Linked DNA regions of Homo sapiens: region 1 is linked to region 2. Evidence: promoter capture Hi-C in 16 types of primary human blood cells and fetal thymus (Javierre and others, 2016). All regions are on one chromosome and are shown on one strand. The core of a region is centred on a gene start or on the middle of the fragment in contact, and the rest is flanking DNA. Distances in the headings are between cores, read along the strand shown.

Region 1 (7,127 bases), core at 4,383-6,882, 210 kb after region 2:
TCTGTGTTCATTAATAGGAAGACTTGGTATTATGAAAATACTTTCCCCAAATTATGTATAGAATTATGAACTTCCAAATAAAATCCTTGCAGTTGTCTTTTAGCTGGACAAGCCAATTCTAAAATTCATGTGGTACAACAAAGAACCCTGAAGAAGAGTAACAAGGGGGCAATTGCCTACTGCACATCAAGTTGTCTCATAAAGCTCTGCTATTTAATATTTAAGACAGCGTGCTATTGGTATGCTGGTGGCACAGAGTGAAAAATCAGGAACTATTTCTACACATGCATAGAAACTTTATAATAAAGGTAGCATTACAGATAAATTGGGGAAAGAGAAGCAGTATTCATTCATGATTCTTGAGAAATTGGTCAGTCTACACACAAAGACCCTTGGGGATGTGTTTGAATTAGATAGAAAAAGTACTAATATAAAAGCAAAATATGATACATTCTATTATATTAAAAGTAACATCTACTTAAGAAAGAACACAGGCCAGGTGCTGTGGCTCACGCCTGTAATCCCAACACTTTGGGAGGCCAAAGAGGGTGGATCACCTGAGGTCAGGAGTTCGAGACCAGCCTGACAAACATGGTGAAACCCCATCTGTACTAAAAATACAAAAATTAGCTGGGTGTGGTGACAGGCACCTGTAATCCCAGCTACTTGGGAAGCTGAGGCAGGAGAATCACTTGAACCCAGGAGACGGAGGTTGCAGTGAGCCGAGATCGGCCAGTGCACTTCAGCCTAGGTGACAGAGCAAGACTCCATCTCAAAAAAACAAAACAAAACAAAGAAAGAAAGAAAGAAAAAACACTATAAAGAAAGTTTTTTTTAAGAAAAAAAAAAGAAGAAGAAGACACAAACTGGGAAAGAGATGTGCAGCACATACAGTTGACAAAGAATCTGTGTCCAGAATATGTAAATAACACAAAGCACGAAGGAAAAGACACACGACACAATAGAAAAGCTGAAGATGTCACATCCTAAAATTGTGTCTGCATACAACAGGAAATATGTATAAAGAGGTATGTCCACCATGGCAGCATGTATACAGCAAAAATACAAAACCAAAAAACACCCCAAGTGGTCACCAAAAACATGAGAGAAATAAAATGTGGCATATTAATGCAACAGGAGAATACCTAATAATAAAAATGCAAAAACTACAGCCAGCCACGCACATCTACAGGAGTGAAATTTGAGAACATAATTTTGACCGAAAAAAAAAGCAAGTATTTGAAAATTCAGTATTTCTTTTTTCTTTTTTTTTTTGGAGACAGAGTCTGGCGCTGTCGCCCAGGCTGGAGTGCAGTGGCGCGATCTCGGCGCAGTGCAAGCTCCACCTCCCGGGTTCACGCCGTTCTCCTGCCTCAGCCTCCCAAGTAGCTGGGACTACAGGCGCCCGCCACCACGCCCGGCTAATTTTTTGTATTTTTAGTAGAGATGGGGTTTCACTGTGTTAGCCAGGATGGTCTCGATCTCCTGACCTCGTGATCCGCCTGCCTCCGCCTCCCGAAGTGCTGGGATTACAGGTGTCAGCCACTGCGCCCAGCCTCAGTATTTCATTTTCAAGAAGTTTAAAAGCACATAACGAAATATATGGTTTTTCAGGATGCAGAGTGTGGTTGAAAATAATAACAGTAAGAGTATTCTAATATTTTGCATATTGGCTACTGAGAGTGGGGTGGGGAATGGAATTGGGTTGGGATACACAGCAGAGTTGGGGATACTGGTTCTGTTCTTTCTTAAGGTGGGTGAAGATAGTCTTGTTGTTTTCACTGTTGCTCTCCAAGGGGCAGGACACTGATTGCAGCAGCCCAGCCAGGTCCTATGCGAGGCCACCGCTGTCCTGGCCACCCCGGGACAGGGGCCTTGGCTACTCTCCCACACCTGTCTGGGCTGTTCCTCGGCGCTTCTGAAATCCCATCCCAGCCAGGGAAGGAACCCTGGTGGGGTGGAGTGGAGGCGAGGCACTCTGTAACCCCATCGGGGTGTGGAGCAGCTCTAGGTCCCAAAAGGCCACTAGGCATGCGCAAGGTCGCACATGCAGAAGAGAGACCCCTGCTCAGAGGCCAGAGCCGGCATGAGGCGGTCAGAGAGGATCCCCTAGTGGTGGAGGTGGAAAATTGCAAGGACGGAAAATTCCGCGTGAAAGGCGGACTTTGAACAGATCCCATCCAGGGAGCTGCTCTGCTGCAGAGAAAACTCGGACCCAGAAGCAGCTCCTCTAGGAACGGATTAGCTTCAGGGTTGTCACCAACCTGCCTTGAGTGAAGGGCAAGGGGGTGGTCCCTTTTCCACTGGACGCCATTTCCCTGGACAAGGGGCTCTCAGCACAGGACCTAGGCAGTGGCTGGGGGCTGGCACAGTGGTGGACTCTCTATCCCAGGCCAGCCGAGGCTCCATGGAGCTGCCCTAAGGCTCAGCCTGGGCGGATTCTGACTTAGAGGCTTCAGTCATCATCCCGCAGATGGCAGCTTCACCCATTGGCCCCTCAGCCAAGCACAGGCACCAAGTATCTGAATCTGCAGGGCCTCTGGTACTGGGCAGGATCGCCATGGCAACAACACATCATCACCAGGGTAAACCTAGCCTGTCTCACCTGGTCTAAACCAGCTCAGGTTCTCTGAGTGGGTGAGCAATCGTAGAAATTCTGCCTTACAATGAAAAAAAGAACCCACAGACAGGGATGAAAAATCGAGGGCATTGTGAACGCTTGCTGGCCACAAGCCAGCTAGCCCTGTGGTAACATTTCTGACACCTCCTGCTTAAAACCCAAAAGGTCAGAAAGATCCTAAGGCCCCGCTTTCACCTTCTGAATTCCTGCCGCAAATAAAGACCAAGGAGTGAGTTATTTATTATTTATTTATTTATTTATTTATTTATTTATTTATTATTTTGCCCTCCTGCTCCTCGGGAGGCTTCTGTCCTGAGCTCGCCTTAGCTAATCCTGCGTTACCGTTCGGCAGGTGTGCGCCTCAATCTCCCCACCTTACCGCCAGGGAACTTAGCCTGACGACACTCCGCCCCATCGGGTCAGGGAAAAACGGTAGGAGTAGTGGAATTTCACATTTCGCCCTCTGCCTGCATGGCCAGTCAACTCCGCCCCTCGCGGAAACAGGGGGTGGGCGCGGGACCAACTACTGATCCCCTCCCCTGTCTCTTCACAGCGCTGCAGTCAGGCTCAGCCGATGCTTCTTTCCTGCAGGTTCCGCCGAGCCCGTCCCTTGGCGGTGGTGTCACTGGATGCTGGGAAGAGATGGTGGGAAGAGCCTCCATCCATTGGCGCGTCACTAATTAGACAAGGAGGCCTTGGGCTCCCTTGAGAGAGTCACGGTTTCTCCTCCGTTGACCCGCCCTTCATTGAACTCCTTTACTTGGATATTCAGAGCGCTGGACAGAGATCACTTGGCGCTAACACCCTCGGAGGTCCTCACGGCGCTCCGTCGGAATGACACAGTCGGATTCCCAAGCTGCGAAGGGTGAGGGAGGGACTGCAGCGCAGGAACTGAGGAGGAGAGGCCCGCGCGCCCACTGGAGCCGAGCGGTGAGGAATAACCGGACCGACCCCCGACGGTGCGTGGTGAGTCTCCCCAACCTGCACCATTCGCGCCCCGAGGCGCCCCAAGCGCGGCTGGGAGGCCAGCTGTGGCTGGGACGATTCACTAGAAGGGCCGGCCTGCGTCGAGTTTCCAGGGTGGCCGCCAGTGACCCCGGCGGGGCCCATCCCCCTTGCCCTCAGAGCCCGCCCCGCCCCGCTCCCCTGTGGCACCGCCACCGCTACTCCAGGAGGCACAGTGGGGAGGAGAAGGGGGTGGGGAGCCTAAGGAGAGGAGTGAAGGTGTCCTGGCCTGCCTTGGGGAAGGGGCGGGGGCGGGTGCCTCTGGGACACCCAGCCCGGGGGATCAGCCCTGAGAGCCAGTCCTTACCCTGAAGTTACAGATCTGGCTTCCAGATTTCTGTAACCTACCTTGTTCCAACACAGGCCTGAGGCTGTTCCTGTTAGAGACCTGTTGCGGATACGGGTAGGGCCCTGCGGGAGATTTACATCTCCAGTCTTCCCCCCCGCCCCCCGCCCCCCTTGTTTTTCACAGACAGGCTAGAGCAGCGGCGCTATCATAGCTCACTGCAGCCTCGAACTGGTGAACTGGAGGGATCTTCCCAACCATCTTTTGTCTTTTTTAAGAAGAAAAATACAAAAGCTTTTATATAGGCTTACACACAGCTACAGAGCAAATCTTTATCGTATATCCAAGATTATCAACCACTTGACTGTACAACCAGGAATCATAACACATTTGAGAACAACCAGTGGCAAAATAGGAAAATGGGCCAATGAAGAAGATAGGTGACTAATAAATAAAAATCTGATATCAAGTGTAGGCAAGTTGTAGGGAAAATGGGTGATGAACGAATAGAACAAATGCCTGGGGTAAACATCATTCGAAAGCCCAGAAAGAAGCTTTTAGACATCTTTATTGCTTTTTGGGGGGGCGGGGGGGGTGGGGTTCTGGAGGATTGATGGCTGAACTCTCATGAAAAGGGTGCAGTCAGAGAACAAGAAAGAGTTCCCAGGAATTAAAATTGTAAACAGAAAAGCAAATTCAGGGTAATTGCTGAAAGACCCACCAAAGGATCTCCAAGATACAATTGAGAAAATCAACCCTAACATAAAGGCAAAAGACAAAGGTGGGTTATTTGAGCGAGAAGTGGTTTGAGGATTTGCAAATATTTGTTTAGTATTGAATATGTGCCAAGCACACATTACAGAATACGTTACTTATGGGAAGTAACTTAGCCTTGAAGTAGCTCTGTGAGGATGCATGTGTTTCCTTTACCTATAATTCTATAGGAAAGGCAATTTTTAAAAATAAATCAAGGTTGGATTTCATCAATTTTACAGAATACGCATAACTTTATAAAATTTTCAAAATTCTCTAAAAACCTATTGAGATAATTAAACAAGCGTTTTTCTCCTTTAGTCTGTTAATGTGGAGAAGTATTTTCTGATGTTGAAACATACTTGCATTCCTGATATAAGCCATACGTATGATAACATATTTTGCTTGTTTGCTATTATTAATTCTGAATTTGGTTCACTAAGATTTTGTTTGATTTTGCATGTATATTTGTAAGTGAGATTGGTCTATAATTTTCTTGTGTGGTTTTGGTATCATGCTATAACAGCTTCTGAAAATGTGTTAGAAAGTGTTTTCTTGTTAAAGTTTTAAACCTTCTGAGAATTGGTTGAGGAGGAGCTTGAAAATTTGTTAAAATTCACCATAAAAATATCAGGACCTGAAATTTTGTTATTGTTGTCAGTAAATAAAAATTATCAACTGTCTTTTTAATTGCTTTACTGATTATTGCTCTATTCATAATATCCATTTTTTCATGAGTCAGTTTTGGTAATTTACATTTATCGAGATAGTTGTCCGTTTCATCTAAGTTTTAAAATATATTGGTACAGCTATTGTGGTATTCTCTGAATAATTTTAAAATCTCTCTTGTGTCTTCCTGATTTGTCCTATTTAAATTTTTTTGATTAATCAATTTATATTTTCATATTGTTTTCTCTCTCTCTCTCTCTCATAATGTTATGGTTTAGATAGGAATGGTCCAGGGTGGAATGACACAAGTAAAGAAACAATAATGTGGTTTTGTGTACTATAAGGAAACATATAAAAGAAGGCATGGGAATACAAAGGAATCAATTAATTGCACATTAAGTATTTGTTAAGGTCCAATAATTTGAAAAATATTAAGAAAAGTGATACTGTCCTTGCTGGACATAGGACATTAAACAGACCCTGTTAAACAATGTTGAGAACAAATTAAGGCTATTTAAGGTAGTTCGATAGCAGTCAATTATAAAATGTGCATATCTTGTGATTGAGCAAATGCACTTCTAGATATTACTATATAGAAATGTAGAAGTGTGCCAAGCTAAACAACCATAGATGTTCATTGCAGCCCTGTTTGAATGGTCATAGAAAATCCGGGATGAGAGTCCAAAGACTCAGCAAACAACAATTTAGCAATTTTGCTACTGCATAAAAGGGTGCCCCCTTTTCAAGCCCACAACAGAGATGTTGCTACTAATCCTGAATTCAACCCAGTTTGTTGCACATTTTAGGATTTCATCCTGATGACTAATTTTAGGGTCACCTATATTTGGTTACCACCTCTATTTGGTTGCAAATAAAACCGAGCACAAGTTGACTGGCAGAAAAAGAGACTGTGCTAGCTCATATCATTGTAAAGTCAGCCAGAAATTTGGCTTATGGCAAAGTTTGGTCTAAGACTCAAACAATCTCGCTAGATCTCCTGACAGTAGGGAAGATGGTGGGTCCCAGTTTTTTTTGTTTTGTTAATCAATAGTGAGGATTGGGAATGTGGAGAAGAAAGGAGGAAGATGCAGTAAAAAAAAAAAAAAAAATGCTTTGGACTTTCCAGACCCTGCATCATTTTGTTTTGGGATTGGCTTCCTTCTTCCTTTTTAGTGCTTCATGATTCACCCTTCATCCTACAGACATAGGTGTTGATGATGGATCATTGAGGGATGTGCTTGACATTTTGGGAACAAGTGGCCTTTGAGGATGGGACTGTGGATGTGGCCTCTGTATCCCAGTCAGATAAAACTATACAGAAACATAATTTTCTTATATATTTTGGATATTATCTTCTTATCAGATGTATATATTTACAAATATATATGTATATATTTACAAATATATTCTCCTCCCATTTGTAGGTTGTCTCTTTGCTCTGCTGGCCTTTTTTTTCTTTGCTGTATAAAAGCTTTTTAGTTTGATGAAATCCCGTTTGTTTATATTTGGTTTTGTTGCTTATGCTGTTGAGATTTTATCCAAAAACTCTTTGCCTAGACCAATGTCATGGATTTTCCCCCTATATTTTCTTCTAGTAGTTTCATAGTTTCAGTTCTTACATTTAAGTCTTTATTTAATACATTTTGAGTTAATTTTTTGTGCATGGTGAGGGATAGGGTCTAGGTTCATTCTTCTGCATATGAATATCCAATTCCCCAGCACCACTTATTGAAGAGGCTGTCCTTTCCCCATTGTGTGCATGTGGCTCCTTGGCTGAAAATCAGTTAGCTAGAG
Region 2 (6,659 bases), core at 1-2,500:
CTGCCCCTCCGAGCTCACCGTTGTGGGTTTCCACCATTAGCACGCGGGTGACCTCCTTGGCGTAGTAGTCGGCCTCAGGCTCGGGCTCCGGTTCTGCACTCTCCCCGGCCACCCGGTCGCGGGTGCTGTTGTACAGGGCGAGCACGGCCTCGGGCAGCGGGCCGGGCGGCACCTCCCCCTGGCTCGGGGGGCTGGCGAGCCGCAGCTTGGACAGGATCTGGCCGCGGATGGCCTCGATGCGCTTCCGCTTCACCAGCTCCATGTCGATAGTCTTGCAGGTGGATAGTCCCGCGGCCGGCCGGCCAGGCGTCAGCACCAGTAGCCACAGCAGCGGTAGCAGCAGCGGCAGCAGCCGCAGCCCGGAGGGCGGCATGGGGGAGGCGGCGCCCCCCGGCACTGCCGAGAGCGCGAACAGGGCTGGTGTGGTGGGGAGGCCCCGCCCCTGCAGGGGCTGGGGGTCTCCCGGCAAAAGGTAGGAGGGCCTCGAGGGAAAGCTGAGGTCCTCAGGGAGAAGGGCGCAGTGGTGGAGGGGAGGCTTGGACCGGGGGTGTCTCAGTATCCCACGGAAATAACCTAGATGGGCGCGATCTGGTACCAGAAGGTGGGTGGTCTTGAATAGGGGATCTGTGGCAGGTCGGAGAGAGATCCGTCTCCTGGAGGAGAAAGGGTCTAGGATGCGCGGGGGCTCAGGAGACAGGCCGGGGATGAAGGCGGCGTGCAGGGGGTGCGCCCGAGGTCTGGGGAAAAGTCTTTGCGGGAGGCCGGGTCGGCGACTCCCGAGGGCTGGTCCGGAATGGGGGCGCCTGAGGGACGCCGTGTAGGGGGCAGGGAGGGAGCAAGCGTCCCCGGCGGCAAAGGGAGGCGGTCTGGGGTCCCCAAGTCCTGCCTCCTCGCGGGGCAGCGTCGCGCCAAGAGGTCCCCGCGCCTCCGGCTCCCAGCGGCAACGGAAAAGTCTCAAAAGTTTTTTTCCTCTTCTCCCGACCAGCTCGTCCCTCCTCCCGCTCCTCCTCCCCCTCCTCCCCGCAGTGGCGGGGGCGGCGGCGGCTCGTCTCAGACTCTGGGGCCTCAGGCTGCTCCTCGGCGACTCCTTCCTCCGCTCCGGGCCGAGGCCGGCCCCGCGGGCGGCTCAGAGCCGGGGGGGTGCCCCGGACGGGGCGTCCCCCCTGCCCCCGGCCGGGGCCCTCGCTGTCTGGCTGCTCCGCGGAGGGAGGTGGGAGGGAGATGGCCCAGGGCGCGAAGGGCGGCGGCGGCGGGGACCGGCTGGGTCGGCAGGGGGTTTTGAAGCCGCCCCCGGCCCCACCCAGGAAGCGCACGGGGCGGGAGCGGGGGCGGCCCCCAGGGGGAGGGCATGGGGGGGCTGGGCCACCGTCCTCATCTCGCGTGGGCGGGCTCCGAGGGGGGTCCCTTCAGCCCTGGGGGAAAGGGGGCGGGCACCCCGGCTCCGCCCCGCAAACAGGGTGCTGCCTCCTGGCGGCCAAGCGCCACCAAAGCGGGTGATCCAGATGCGCTGTGGCTTTGCGGGCGGTGTGGGTCACCAGAGAAAGAGGACCAGGCGGAGAAGGCTTAATCCGGGGGATGAGACACAGGGGAGCCGACCAGAGGAGGGGGACCCAGAACGGAAGGAGAGTCAGGCTGGGAAACAAGGTAGGAGAAGAGGGTCTGTCAACATGGGGGCCTCCGGAGGGTGTCAGTGGGAGGAGGGGGCAACAGGACACCTGAAGGATGGAAGGGTCAGGAGGCAGACACCTGTAAGAATTGCTCTCCTTTACTGAGCACCTCCCATGTGGCTAAGCAGCCTCCTGTCACTCAACACCCTGCGACCCCATACATTTACTGTCCCCAATTTACAGATAGGGAAACTGGGCCCAGAGGGACCCCGAGGTCCTAGAAAGGACAGAAGCGGTGCCATGCCTTAGCTGGGGTCAGCTCTGACAGTCTCTAGAGTCTGTGCTCTTGACCACTGTGCCATCCTCCCCCATCACTGGGTGTCCGGGGTGTGGATGGTGGTGACGTTGGAGGCAGAGTCCCTCAGCACTCCACGCCGTAGCGGTCGAAGTTGCGGAGCAGCAGGCCGATCTCCAGGTGCACGGTGCCACCAGCAGCTGTGTGCAGGCGATAGCGGTCGGCCCCACTGTAGATGGTGTCCCCATGCAGCAGCTGCGGCCCACCACCCACGAAAGCCCGTGCCAACTGTTCTCGCCAACTGCCCAGGGGCCGCCACGTGGGGCAGGCCAGCTGGTGGGTGCCCGGGCTACTGGGCACATGGCAAAATCCATAGCCTGCAAGCTGGCAGCGGCCAAAGCTGTCCTGGGACCACACCTGGAAATGGAGCCGGGGCCAGCCTGCAGGAAAGGAGAGAGAGGGGAAAGGAGGGATGGGTGGGGACCAGACTCCTGCTGATTCCCCACTCCCTGATACTCACTGGAGACCCCAGGCCCAGTCTTTTCCTCTCTGGGTTTCTGTCCCAGAGTTTCCAACCCAGCCTCCTTTCTAGGCTCCCACCGTCTTATCTATCCCCACACAGCAGCCAAAGTGATCTTTCCAAATCCATGTTACTCCCCTGCTAAGGATCCTTCCATAGCTCCCCAGTGCCCTCAGTATAAAGTCCAACCTCTTCAACATTCAAGGCCCTTCTAATCAGACCTCTGCTGAATTTCCTCTCTGTGTTATCCTCCTCCATGACCCCATGTCAGGGCAGCCCATTGCTCCTCCAGTCCCCAGGTAACCATCATGGGCCTTGTCAGGGACACCTCCTGCCTTCCCTCATGTCCCTGCCCTGCTCTCTTTGGGCCCAGGGCCTTCTTTCTTGCCCCTCTCTAATCCACCTTCCACCTGGCATCTGGAAGCATCTTTCTCTCCTTCCATAGCTTTGCCCATGTCCTCAGAACACAGTTCAGCTCCTCAGTCTGGTAGTCAAAGCCCTTGGAGATCCAGCCCCATCTCATCTCATGCTGATCCCTTCTCCTGTGCTAGACTCTGTTCTAGCTAGCTGGGGACACGGCAGACATGAACATGGATGGCAGACAAAAATTCCTGCCCCCGTGAAGCTGATATCCTAGACAACGAATGTAGTAAATAAGCAAATTATAGGGTAGATCAGATGGTGGTAATTGCTGTGAGGGAAAACAGAGCTGGGTAGGGTGAGGGTGGGGATACCGCTTTAGCAAGAAGGGGATCAAGGAAGCTTCATTAAGAAGGTGACATTTGAGCAAATGCTAAAAGGAAGGAAGGGAGTAGGCCATGTGGCCATCTAGAGGAAGAGTGCTCCTAGCCAGAGGGAACAGCAAGTGCCAAGGCCCTGGGGGGGGACTGTCTGGTGGGGACAGTATGGCTGGAGCCCAGACGGAGTGTGCCTGGTGGGGACAGCATGGCTAGAGCAGAATGAGGTGGGGAGACGGGAAGGAGGTGCCAGCCTGGTTGTGGAGAGCCTTGTGATGCATGCTAAGACTATGGCTTTCACCCTGAGTGAGATGGGGACCATTGGAGGGTTCTGAGCAGAGCAGAGATGGGACCTGACTTAGGTGTTCACAGGGTCCCAGCTGCATGTGGGGTGCAGACCAGGGGGGTTGGGGAAGGGGACTCCAGAGACAAGATTCTTGTCATAGTCCATGTGAGAGAAGAACTTGGACAGATCAAGGTGCTGGGCGAGAAAAGGGTAAGAAGTGGGATTTAGGATGTATTTCAAAAGTAGAGGCAGTTTAAGATTTCCTGATGGACAAAATGGGGGCTTGAGAAAAGAGAAAGCAAGGCTGGTGCCACCACTGGGGGACTGGAGGCCCCAAGAGCTGAAAGGTTAGAGCTGCCCACCTCACCCACACAGCACCGGAAAGATTTTTTTTTTCCCCAGCTCCAGCTTAAAAGACAGAAAGATTATTTAAAAGTGAAATCTCAGCCAGGCGCGGTGGCTCATGCCTGTAATCCCAGCACTTTGGGAGGCCGAGGCAGGTGGATCACCTGAGGTCAGGAGTTCGAGACCAGCCTGACCACCTTGGTGAAACGCCATCTCTATTAAAAAAAAAAAAGGCAAAAATTAGCCAGATGTGGTGGCACGTGGCTGTAGTCCCAGCTACTCGTGAGGCTGAGGCAGGAGAATTGCTTGAACCTGGGAGGCAGAGGTTGCAGTGAGCTGAGATCTTGCCACTACACTCCAGCCTGGGCAACAGAGTGAAACTCTGTCTCCAAAAAAAAAAAGGTGAAATCTCACTTGTCCATTACCTGCTCTGGCTCCCAAGTGCCTTCAGGAGATGGCCTCAGCTCCTCAGCCTGGCACTCAAGGCCCTGCATGGCCTGTCCCCTTCTGCCTTTCCCCTCTGCCGTCCCGCTCTCCCTCAATCCACTAGATGCCCTTGGCTCACTTTCCCCTTTGAGTCTTCCACGTAGCTCCCTCTGCCTAGAACCTTCTTCTATCCCTCTGCCTTATTAGCTCCGCTGGCCCTTCACAGCAAAGTTCAGAAGCCCCCTCCTCCAGGAAGCCCTCTCTGACCTCCCTGACAGAGTCAGCCACTTCCTCTGGGCTCCCACAGCCTCTCCAAATCACCTATCTTAGTCCTGCCCACTCTGAGGTGCCACTGTCTGGAGAGAGGTGTGTCCCCCCATAGGACGGTGAACCCTGTGAGGACAAGGCTAAGGGACACTGCCTTGATCCTCAATGTCTCCCTGGCATCACCCAACACAGGCTGGACACAGGGCAGGTACCAGGTAGACGTTCTTTATATTGGTGAAATATATGGCACATTTACCTAGGCAATTTCTCAGAATCAACTCATCTCCAGGAACCCACATTTTCTACTAGAAAGGCTTTCTGATGCCGCTCCTCCCCCAGTACTGATTTCCCCTTTGAGCAGCAGCTCTACTTTCAAGCCGAGGAGCCCTTCCTGGAGAAACAGCCCTTGCCTCTCTCAGACCCTGCCTCCCGGCTTCCTCTTTATTGGAGACTCTCGTTTTGTCTCTTTACTTGAATGCCACCTCCCCTCCCACCCTGACCCCCCACCTTCCCACCTCCTGCTCCACCCTGGCCTCTGCCCTAATCATACAAACTTGGGATCGCCTATTGAGCAGGCCTGGGAAGGCCTTAGCTCAGCCTCTCCAGGGCCAGACTTGGCTGCAAAAGGGACCTACGTGGTATGGGGAGCAGGGACAGGTCTTGGTGTTCCCAGCCCCAGGGACCTCAGAGGCTACTGGCCCCCTCCCCTCAGCCTGGACCCGGGTCCAGGTGTGATACCCACCTTGAAGACCTTTGGTGGCGAAGTGCAGGTCGATGGGGTGGGACCAGTAAGCCATGTCCCCTATCTGCGGGGTGTCCACTTGCGTTTGGCCCTCCCGCACGCCTGACAGGAGCTTCCATGCCGCCCCTGCAGTGAGAGCCGGGACATAGAGGGGTGGGAGGCAGCCATCGGGAAGGGGATGCCGCTGTGGCTATAGGACTGTTTCTCTGTGGCATCTACTGGTAGGGGTTACGAAGCATGGACTCTGGAACCAAGTATCTGGGTTCAAATCCTGGCACTACCTCTTCCTGCCTCTGCAACCTTGGGCAAGTTAGCTTTCTCTGCCTTGGTCTCCCCATCTATAAAATGAGCTGAGTAATAATGCATTCCTCATTGTCTTCATTTGTTTTCTGTTACTCTTAACATAATATCCAAAACTGGATAATTTATAAAGAAAAGGAATTTCTATCTCACAGTTATAGGAGACTGACCAAGGTGGAGGAGCCCCATCTAGTAAGAGCCTTCTTGCTGGAACTCTTCAGAGAGTCCCAAGGCTAGTGTGCTAACATGCCACTCACGTCTCTCTCTCTCATTTTATAAAGCCACCACTTCCTCTCCCATGATAACCCACTAATCCATTAACCCATTAATCCATGAATGGGTAATGAGCATAGTGAGCACGGGATAAGTCTTCAATATCATTTTATTACGATTCTCACCCCATATTTTCAAGCCTAGTCCAAGGATTAAGATGGGGCCAAGGGTACCCTCCAGGAGCGCATCCTGAAACACACATAACAATTTCGATCCTACTGAGGGGTGATAATGATAGCTAAAATGCACTGAGTGGTAGGATACAGTGGCTCACACCTGTAATCTCAGCACTTTGGGAGGCCAAGGCAGGTAGATCCCTTGAGTCCAGGAGTTCAAGACCAGCCTGACCAACATGGCAAAACCCCATCTCTACAAATAATATAAAAATTAAGGCTGAGCGCAGTGGCTCACACCTCTAATCCCAGCACTTTAGGAGGCTTAGGGGGGGGTGGATCATCTAAGGTCAGGAGTTCAAGACCAGCCTGGCCAACATGGCAAAACCTCGTCTCTACTAAAAATACAAAAATTAGTCTGGAGTGGTGGCAGGTGCCTGTAATCCCAGGTACTCGGGAGGCTGAGGCACGAGAATCGCTGGAAAAGCTGCAGTGAGCCGAGATTGCACCACTGCACTCCAGCTGGTGTGACACAGTGAGACTCCATCTCAAAAAATGAACAAACAAGCCAGGCGCAGTGACTCACGCCTGTAATCTCAGCACTTTGGGAGGCTGAGGCGGGCTGATCACCTGAGGTCAGGAGTTTGAGACCAGCCCGGCCAACATGGCGAAATCCCATCTCTACTAAAAATACAAAAATTAGGATGGGCGCAGTGGCTCACATCTGTAATCCTAGCACTTTGGGAAG

The links. The method cuts DNA at HindIII sites, captures the fragments that hold promoters and counts their contacts. A CHiCAGO score of 5 or more calls a contact.
Region 1: a fragment that was not itself captured here is called in contact with the fragment with the promoter of TGFB1 in region 2 in 1 of 17 cell types (naive B cells); the score reaches 5.7 in naive B cells.

The regions. Positions count from the first base shown.
Region 1 is chr19:41,561,471-41,568,597 of GRCh38, forward strand. It overlaps a transcript of CEACAM21 not described here and the pseudogene LOC110467527. Among named protein-coding and RNA genes, the nearest start is that of CEACAM21, 11 kb to the right of the region's middle. RefSeq lists an enhancer at 1,949-2,243. The HindIII fragment of the contact is 2,339 bases long and covers 4,464-6,802 here.
Region 2 is chr19:41,352,672-41,359,330 of GRCh38, forward strand. It overlaps TGFB1 (transforming growth factor beta 1), which reads right to left and starts at 1,251. Exons shown (of 7, transcript NM_000660.7): 1 at 19-1,251. The coding sequence starts at 373. It overlaps B9D2 (B9 domain containing 2), which reads right to left. Exons shown (of 4, transcript NM_030578.4): 3 at 5,226-5,351; 4 at 1,746-2,342. The coding sequence ends at 2,029. RefSeq lists silencers at 1-263, 424-503, 804-873, 1,024-1,553 and enhancers at 1,554-1,703, 1,627-2,128. The HindIII fragment of the contact is 9,879 bases long and covers 1-3,182 here.